2 separate regions of the Homo sapiens genome follow, and region 2 is linked to region 1. Evidence: promoter capture Hi-C in 16 types of primary human blood cells and fetal thymus (Javierre and others, 2016). All regions are on one chromosome and are shown on one strand. Each heading gives the region's core, a stretch centred on a gene start or on the middle of the fragment in contact. The rest is flanking DNA. Distances are from core to core; before and after follow the strand shown.

Evidence for each region. Contacts are between HindIII fragments. The CHiCAGO score rates a contact against its expected background, and 5 or more counts as called.
Region 2: a contact is called between a fragment that was not itself captured here and the fragment with the promoter of TAF10 in region 1, in 1 of 17 cell types (neutrophils). The highest score is 5.9, in neutrophils.

What each region holds. Positions count from the first base shown.
Region 1 is chr11:6,610,703-6,613,764 of GRCh38, forward strand. TAF10 (TATA-box binding protein associated factor 10) reads right to left here and starts at 1,514. Exons shown (of 5, transcript NM_006284.4): 1 at 1,256-1,514; 2 at 962-1,116; 3 at 686-750; 4 at 487-601; 5 at 1-309. The coding sequence starts at 1,487. The coding sequence ends at 220. TPP1 (tripeptidyl peptidase 1) reads right to left here. Exons shown (of 13, transcript NM_000391.4): 13 at 2,066-3,062. ILK (integrin linked kinase) reads left to right here. Exons shown (of 13, transcript NM_004517.4): 13 at 1-168. RefSeq lists enhancers at 129-717, 718-1,305, 1,761-1,890, 1,941-1,990 and silencers at 1,161-1,360, 1,371-1,470. The HindIII fragment of the contact is 6,165 bases long and covers 1-2,405 here.
Region 2 is chr11:3,792,325-3,795,386 of GRCh38, forward strand. The region is part of intron 1 of NUP98 (nucleoporin 98 and 96 precursor); the gene reads right to left. Among named protein-coding and RNA genes, the nearest start is that of NUP98, 3.7 kb to the right of the region's middle. RefSeq lists an enhancer at 1-4. The HindIII fragment of the contact is 3,504 bases long and covers 1-3,062 here.

The DNA of each region.
Region 1 (3,062 bases), core at 264-2,763:
CCGCCTCCAGTCATGGTACTACCCCAGCCATGGGGTCCATCCCCTTCCCCCATCCCTACCACTGTGGCCCCAAGAGGGGCGGGCTCAGAGCTTTGTCACTTGCCACATGGTGTCTCCCAACATGGGAGGGATCAGCCCCGCCTGTCACAATAAAGTTTATTATGAAAACAGGCTGGTGTGGGGACATGGGGACAGATAAGTACATTTAGGTTGGGTGGCTCAGGTGAAGTAGTGCGGCTTCTTCACATTGATGCCATACTCGCTGAGGGCAGGGGTCAAGTCCTCCATGGTTAGAGTGTACTTGCGGTCCTGAGGGAAGAGGGAAGAGCACCAACTGAGCACAGGAATCCCGGACTTCAATCCCAGATGGGTGACCCTGAGTAAGTCTTACACCTCCCCTACGATTCAGTTTCCCCAAAGGGGTGGCAGGATAAGCCTCCACTGTTGTGGAAGGTAATTACTGATTCATTAAGCCTCCCCTCACACCTTGCTCTTGCTCCGGGAGCTGCCGGAGGCCGTGCCCTTCATTTTGCAGTGCTGTAGGGCATCATTGGCAATATCTGAGATGAATTTCTGGGCAGCTAAGGAGATGAGCCGAATTCTAGAGAGAAAAAACTTAGATGAGAAGGAGATGGACAACATACTGCACAAGCACCCAAAACTAACCTGCCCTGGGTTTACTCACATGCGTGGGTCTGAGGCCTCAAAGCCAGCACGGTTCAGGTAGTAACCAGTCACTGCATCTGGGATCTGAGAAATCAATTAAGAGAACTGTCAGCAGAGCGGGAGGAGGGTGAGGGAAATGGATAGGCCTGATTATCAGGAAGCTCACAGTTTGGGTGAGCAGAGGGCAAACACAGAAGAGCGACTAGGGGAGCAAATGGAAGAGAACGCTGAAAAGCACGATGTGGCTGAAAGTTTTGACAGCAGGCTAGGTGGCCTTGTTCGGGCGGAAGCCCACCGTAGGCGTGTAATCTTCCAGCTGCATCAAGAAGTCCACCAAAGGCGTGCTGGACACCACGGGCTTCACGTCTCCGTTGGCCGCGCTCGGCAGTACGTAAACCCCGTTAGATATGGCCCCCTCCGGGGGCGCCGCGCCACCCGCCGACACCGGAGCTGGAGGAGAACCAGCAAAATGAGACACAGAGGTGGGAGGCGCAGGGCCCCAGCTAGGTCTGTCTATACCCTCTGCCCTCACCCGCCGCTGGACCCAGCCCAAGACGCTTCCCTCGCCCTCACCCGTCCCGGCCCTCACCCGCCCCACGCCGCTCAGCTGGCTCCCCGGCCCGCGCCGCCAAGGGTCCCGTGCCCCCAGCAGCTGCTCCAGCCCCAGGTCCCCCCGCTGTCCCCGCGGGGCTGGCCTTGTTCTCCGCGGCGGTGCTGGAGGGCAGCGCGGCGGGAGCCGAGACCGGGGGCGCGGGGCCCGGGGCCGAGGCGGCGGAGGCCGGCGCCGCCTCGGGGTCCGCGCCGGAGCCGCTGCAGCTCATCGGGCCGGTGGGAGAGGCGGCGAACAGAGCCGCTTCCGCTTCCGCTCGCGCCGCGCACACCCCGGGGTGACGTCACGCGCCCACGACTCGCCCCGCCTGTCTCTGTTAGTGCTCTCCAGCCCGCTCCCCGCCTCCTCCCATAGTGGATCTGCGGGTTAGAGGAAATAGGCTGCAGGGCGGAGACCGAGCCTTGGCGAACTGCGCTGCCGTAGCCATTCCGCCCTAGCCTCTGCCGTGCTCCGCGGCGATTCCGTCCAGACCGGAACCAGCGTGCGTCTGGCTCTCCTCCGCCGCTCTGGGACACCTCATTCTGTCTGACGCTCAAGACCTGGCTTCGACGTTTATGGCCCTATGTCCCTCGACTACGGGTTGCCTGCCTGTCTGCATCGTTTCAAGTTCCCTTATTCAGCCTTTTAAGGATTCATAGTGGATTTGGAAAGCCCCCTCTCTTCTCCGCCAGCTGCCCCGAGAGGTGGGGGCAGCAGTGGGGCGGCACACAGTGCTGCTGTAGGAGGAGGAGGAGTTTCAGCCTGAGTCAACAACATATGCAAAAATCACAACGAATGAGAGGCGTGAGGTTTTCGGTGTAGCAGACATTTAATTCTTATTTGCCAACTCCTGAGCTAGGACCTGGGAACACAAAGTTAAATAGGACACGATTCTAGTCCTCTAGGCACCAACGGTCTTGGAAAGGAAGGCAGACAAGTAAACTGGCCATTTCAATACTACGTGGTCGTTACAATGCTAGAGGTAGGCACAGGGGGCGCAGTGCAAGGGAGGAAGGGCGTTAACATCTGCCACCTACTTCCAGGTGCCAAGCACTGTTATCAACATTATTCCACTTTATTCCCTGGTGATTATGAAAGGCAGGTATTGATATTCACACTTAACAGACGAGGAAACAGCCTCAGGGAGATAAGCTTACTTGACCCAGTCTCTCTCCTAGTCCATATCAGAACCAAGATTCAAACAGGTTTTGTTTAGAAAATCTAGGATTTTTCAGCCATACCAAAATAAAGTAGCCTCAGGGAATCAAAACATTCACGAAAGAAGGTGACTTCTGAACTGAGTCTTGCAAGAATTCTGGAAATTAACCTGGCAGTTGTATCAGGGGTGGTAAGGGGACGGAACAGCTTGAGCAAGAGTGAGAGTTCCTTGGGGTTTGGGGAGGGAGGAGGAAAAATGATTTTTTACTTAAGAACAAATAGCAAGGAAGGTTTGTGAGCTATGATTGGGGGCTGGAGGGGAAAGCCTGAATTCTATCCAGTAATCCTTGAAGGGTTTTCATCCAAGTGGCCTGATGGGATTTGCATTTTACTCTGGAAGATGACTTGGGGATTGGCAGGAAGTAAGGACACTTTTTTTCAAGAGAATATAGCCCTAAACTAAGGTAGTAGCAGTGGGGATATAAGTGGATAAGTTCTAGATATACTTGGGAAATATAATTGGAAGGACTTGTGGACTGATAAAGATATATTTAAGATGTGCAGTCAGTAGGACTTGTTGATTGAGGACTTGTTGATTGAAGGTGGGGTGAAAAGATGACACAGGTTTCTGGCTTGGTTGGAAAAAGCA
Region 2 (3,062 bases), core at 414-2,913, 2.8 Mb before region 1:
TGGGCCAGGCCTATGGGGCTCATGCCTGTAATGCCAGCTCTTTAGGAGGCCGAGACGGGAAGATCACTTGATGTCAGGAGTTCCAGACCAGCCATGGTCAACATGTTGAAACCCCGTCTCTACAAAAAATACAAAAATTAGCCAGATGTGGTGGTACACACCTGTAGTCCCAGCTACTCAGGAGGCTGAGGCATGAGAATCACCTGAACCCGGAATGCAGAGGTTACAGTGAGCCAAGATTGTGCCACAACACTCCAGCCTGGGTGACAAAGCAAGACTCTGTCTCAAAAACAAAGAAACAAACAAACAAAAAAACAACAAAAAAAGAAGATCTGCATAACTCAGTAAATCAATAATTTCAAAATCAACATGCATCATGTTATAAAATCACAGAAGTGTAAAGGTCTATTCAAAGTACAACACAGACCAATGGTTTTTAATACAACAGAATACAAAAGTTCAATGACACAGTTTCAGATTCCATACTGTAATGAACCTTTAAAAAGGTTTGAGGCCGGGCACGGTGGCTCACGTCTGAAATCCCAGCACTTTGGGAGGCCAAGGCAGGCGGATCACTTGAGGCCAGGAGTTCAAACCCAACATGGCGAAACCCCGTCTCTACTAAAAATACAAAAAATTAGCCCAGCGTGGTGATGTGCACCTGTAGTCCCAGCAACTCAGGAGGCTGAGGCAGGAGAATTGCTTGAACCTGGGAGGCGGAGGTTGGAGTACGCTGAGATAGCGCCACTGCACTCCGACTTGGGCGACAGAGCACGACTCCGTCTCAAAAAAACAAACAAATAAAAAGGTTTGACTGTAGTGTCAAAGAGCAGTTAGAATTATCTGAAAAGGCCATTAAAATACTCCTCTCTTTTCCAACTATGTATCTGTATGAGGCTAGATTTTCTTCACATACTTCAAACAAAACAACATAATATATGTCAGAATGCAAAGACTGGTACATTTAGAGGTCTTCTTTTTATGATATGGAGTCTTGCTCTGTCACCCAGGATGAAGCACAGTGGTGCAATCTGCGCTCACTGCAACCTCTGCCTCCTGGGTTCAAGCGATTCTCTGCCTCAGCCTCCCAGTAGCTGGGACTACAGGTGCGTGTCACTGTGCCCAACTAATTTTTCTATTTTTAGTAGATTCAGGGTTTCACCATATTAGCCAGGATGGTCTCAAACTCCTAACCTTGTGATCCACCCGCTTCAGCCTCCCAAAGTGCTGGATTACAGGTGTGAGCCACCACACCCGGCCAGCTACCACTATATTTTTAAGAATTTTTCTTTCCTTACTAAAAAAAACTGCAAGTATTTCCCATTACACTGAATTAAGTACAAATTCCTCAATGTGGTAATTATGGCTGGGCATGGTGGCTCACGCCTGTAATCCCAGCACTTTGGGAGGCCAAAGCGGGTGGATTGCTTGAGGTCACGAGTTCCAGATCAGCCTGGCCAACATGGTGAAAGCCTGTCTCTACTAAAAATACAAAATTAGCTGGGTGTGGTGGCACGCACCTGTAATCCAGCTACTCGGGAGGCTGAGGCAAGAGAATTGCTTGAACCCACGAGGCGGAGGTTGCGGTGAGCCAAGATCACATCATTGCACTCCAGCCGGGGCAACAAGAGCGAAACTCTGTCTCAAAAAATAAATAAATAAATAAATACATGTGAAATATTTTCACTAAAGTAGTAGTCTCAATCAAGGGCAATTCTGACAATTTCTTCAGACATTCCTGATCGTTACAACCTGCAGAGGATGTGTTATGGGTATCTAATGGGTAGAGGTAGGAATGTTGCTAAATATCCTACAATATACAACAGAGCCCCCACGATAATTATCTGGCCCAAAGTCTCAAAGTTCCAAAGCTGAGAAACCTTTCTCTAGAGCCATACTGTGCCAAATACTTACGGTCAATTTCAAACAAAAAGAATGCACCAAGTTCTCAGGAAATGTTTACCTACCTTGCCTCTAATACATACTGTTTTGTTTTGTTTCTTTTCTTTTTTTCTTGAGTCAGAGTCTCGCTGTCGCCCAGGCTGGAGTGCAGTGGCACAATCTTGGCTCACTGCAACCTCCGCCTCCCGAGTTCAAGCAATTCTCCTCCCTCAGCCTCCCGAGTAGCTGGGGCAATGGGCGCATGCTGCCACGCCCAGCTAATTTTTCATATTTTTTTTTAAGTACAGATGGGGTTTCACCATGTTGCCCAGGCTGGTCTCAAACTCCTGAGCTCAGGCAATCCACCCGCCTCGGCCTCCCAAAGTGCTAGGATTACAGGCGTGAACCACCACACCACGCCTTTGTTTTAAGACAGGGCCTCACGCAGTTTCCCAGGCTGGAAAGCAGTGGTGCAATCACAGCACTGCAGTCTCAATCTTCCAGGCTCTGATGTTTCTTTGATTTCAGCCTCCTAAGTAGCTGGAGTACAGGTGCATGCCACCATACCTGCCTAATTTTTGTATTTTTCGTAGAGACAGGGTTTCCCCATGTTGCCCAGGCTAGTCTTGAACTTCTGGGCTCAGGAAATCCACCTGCCTTGACCTTTGAAGTGCTGGGATTACAGTAGTCAGTCACCATGCTCAGCCAATACTTATCCTTAAATCTCTGAGTTTCTTAGTTCCCTAACCTTTCAACAAATTACATAACTGCATAGTCTCATTATTGGAAATTAAACATTAGTACCATCATTCTTTACTTTCCAGGTTAACTACCACCACATAAATCATATTACAAGAAAATAATATAATTTTTTCAAAGCCGTAAATTTAGTTCCTTAAAAATTCTACTTGCTCTTAGTTATCTAGGACCTAGTAGACATAAAGTCAGGTACTGGCTGGGCACAGTGGCTCATACCTGTAATCCCAGCACTTTGGGAGGCCGAGGTGGGGGATGGCTTGAGCCCAGGAATTCGATACCAGCCTGGGCAACATAGCGAAACCCTGTCTCTACCCAAAATATACAAAAAAATATTAGCTGGGTATGGTGGTGCACACCTGTGGTCTCAGCTACTTGGGAGGCTGAGGTGGGAAGATTGCTTGAGCCCAGGAGGTAGAGGCTAC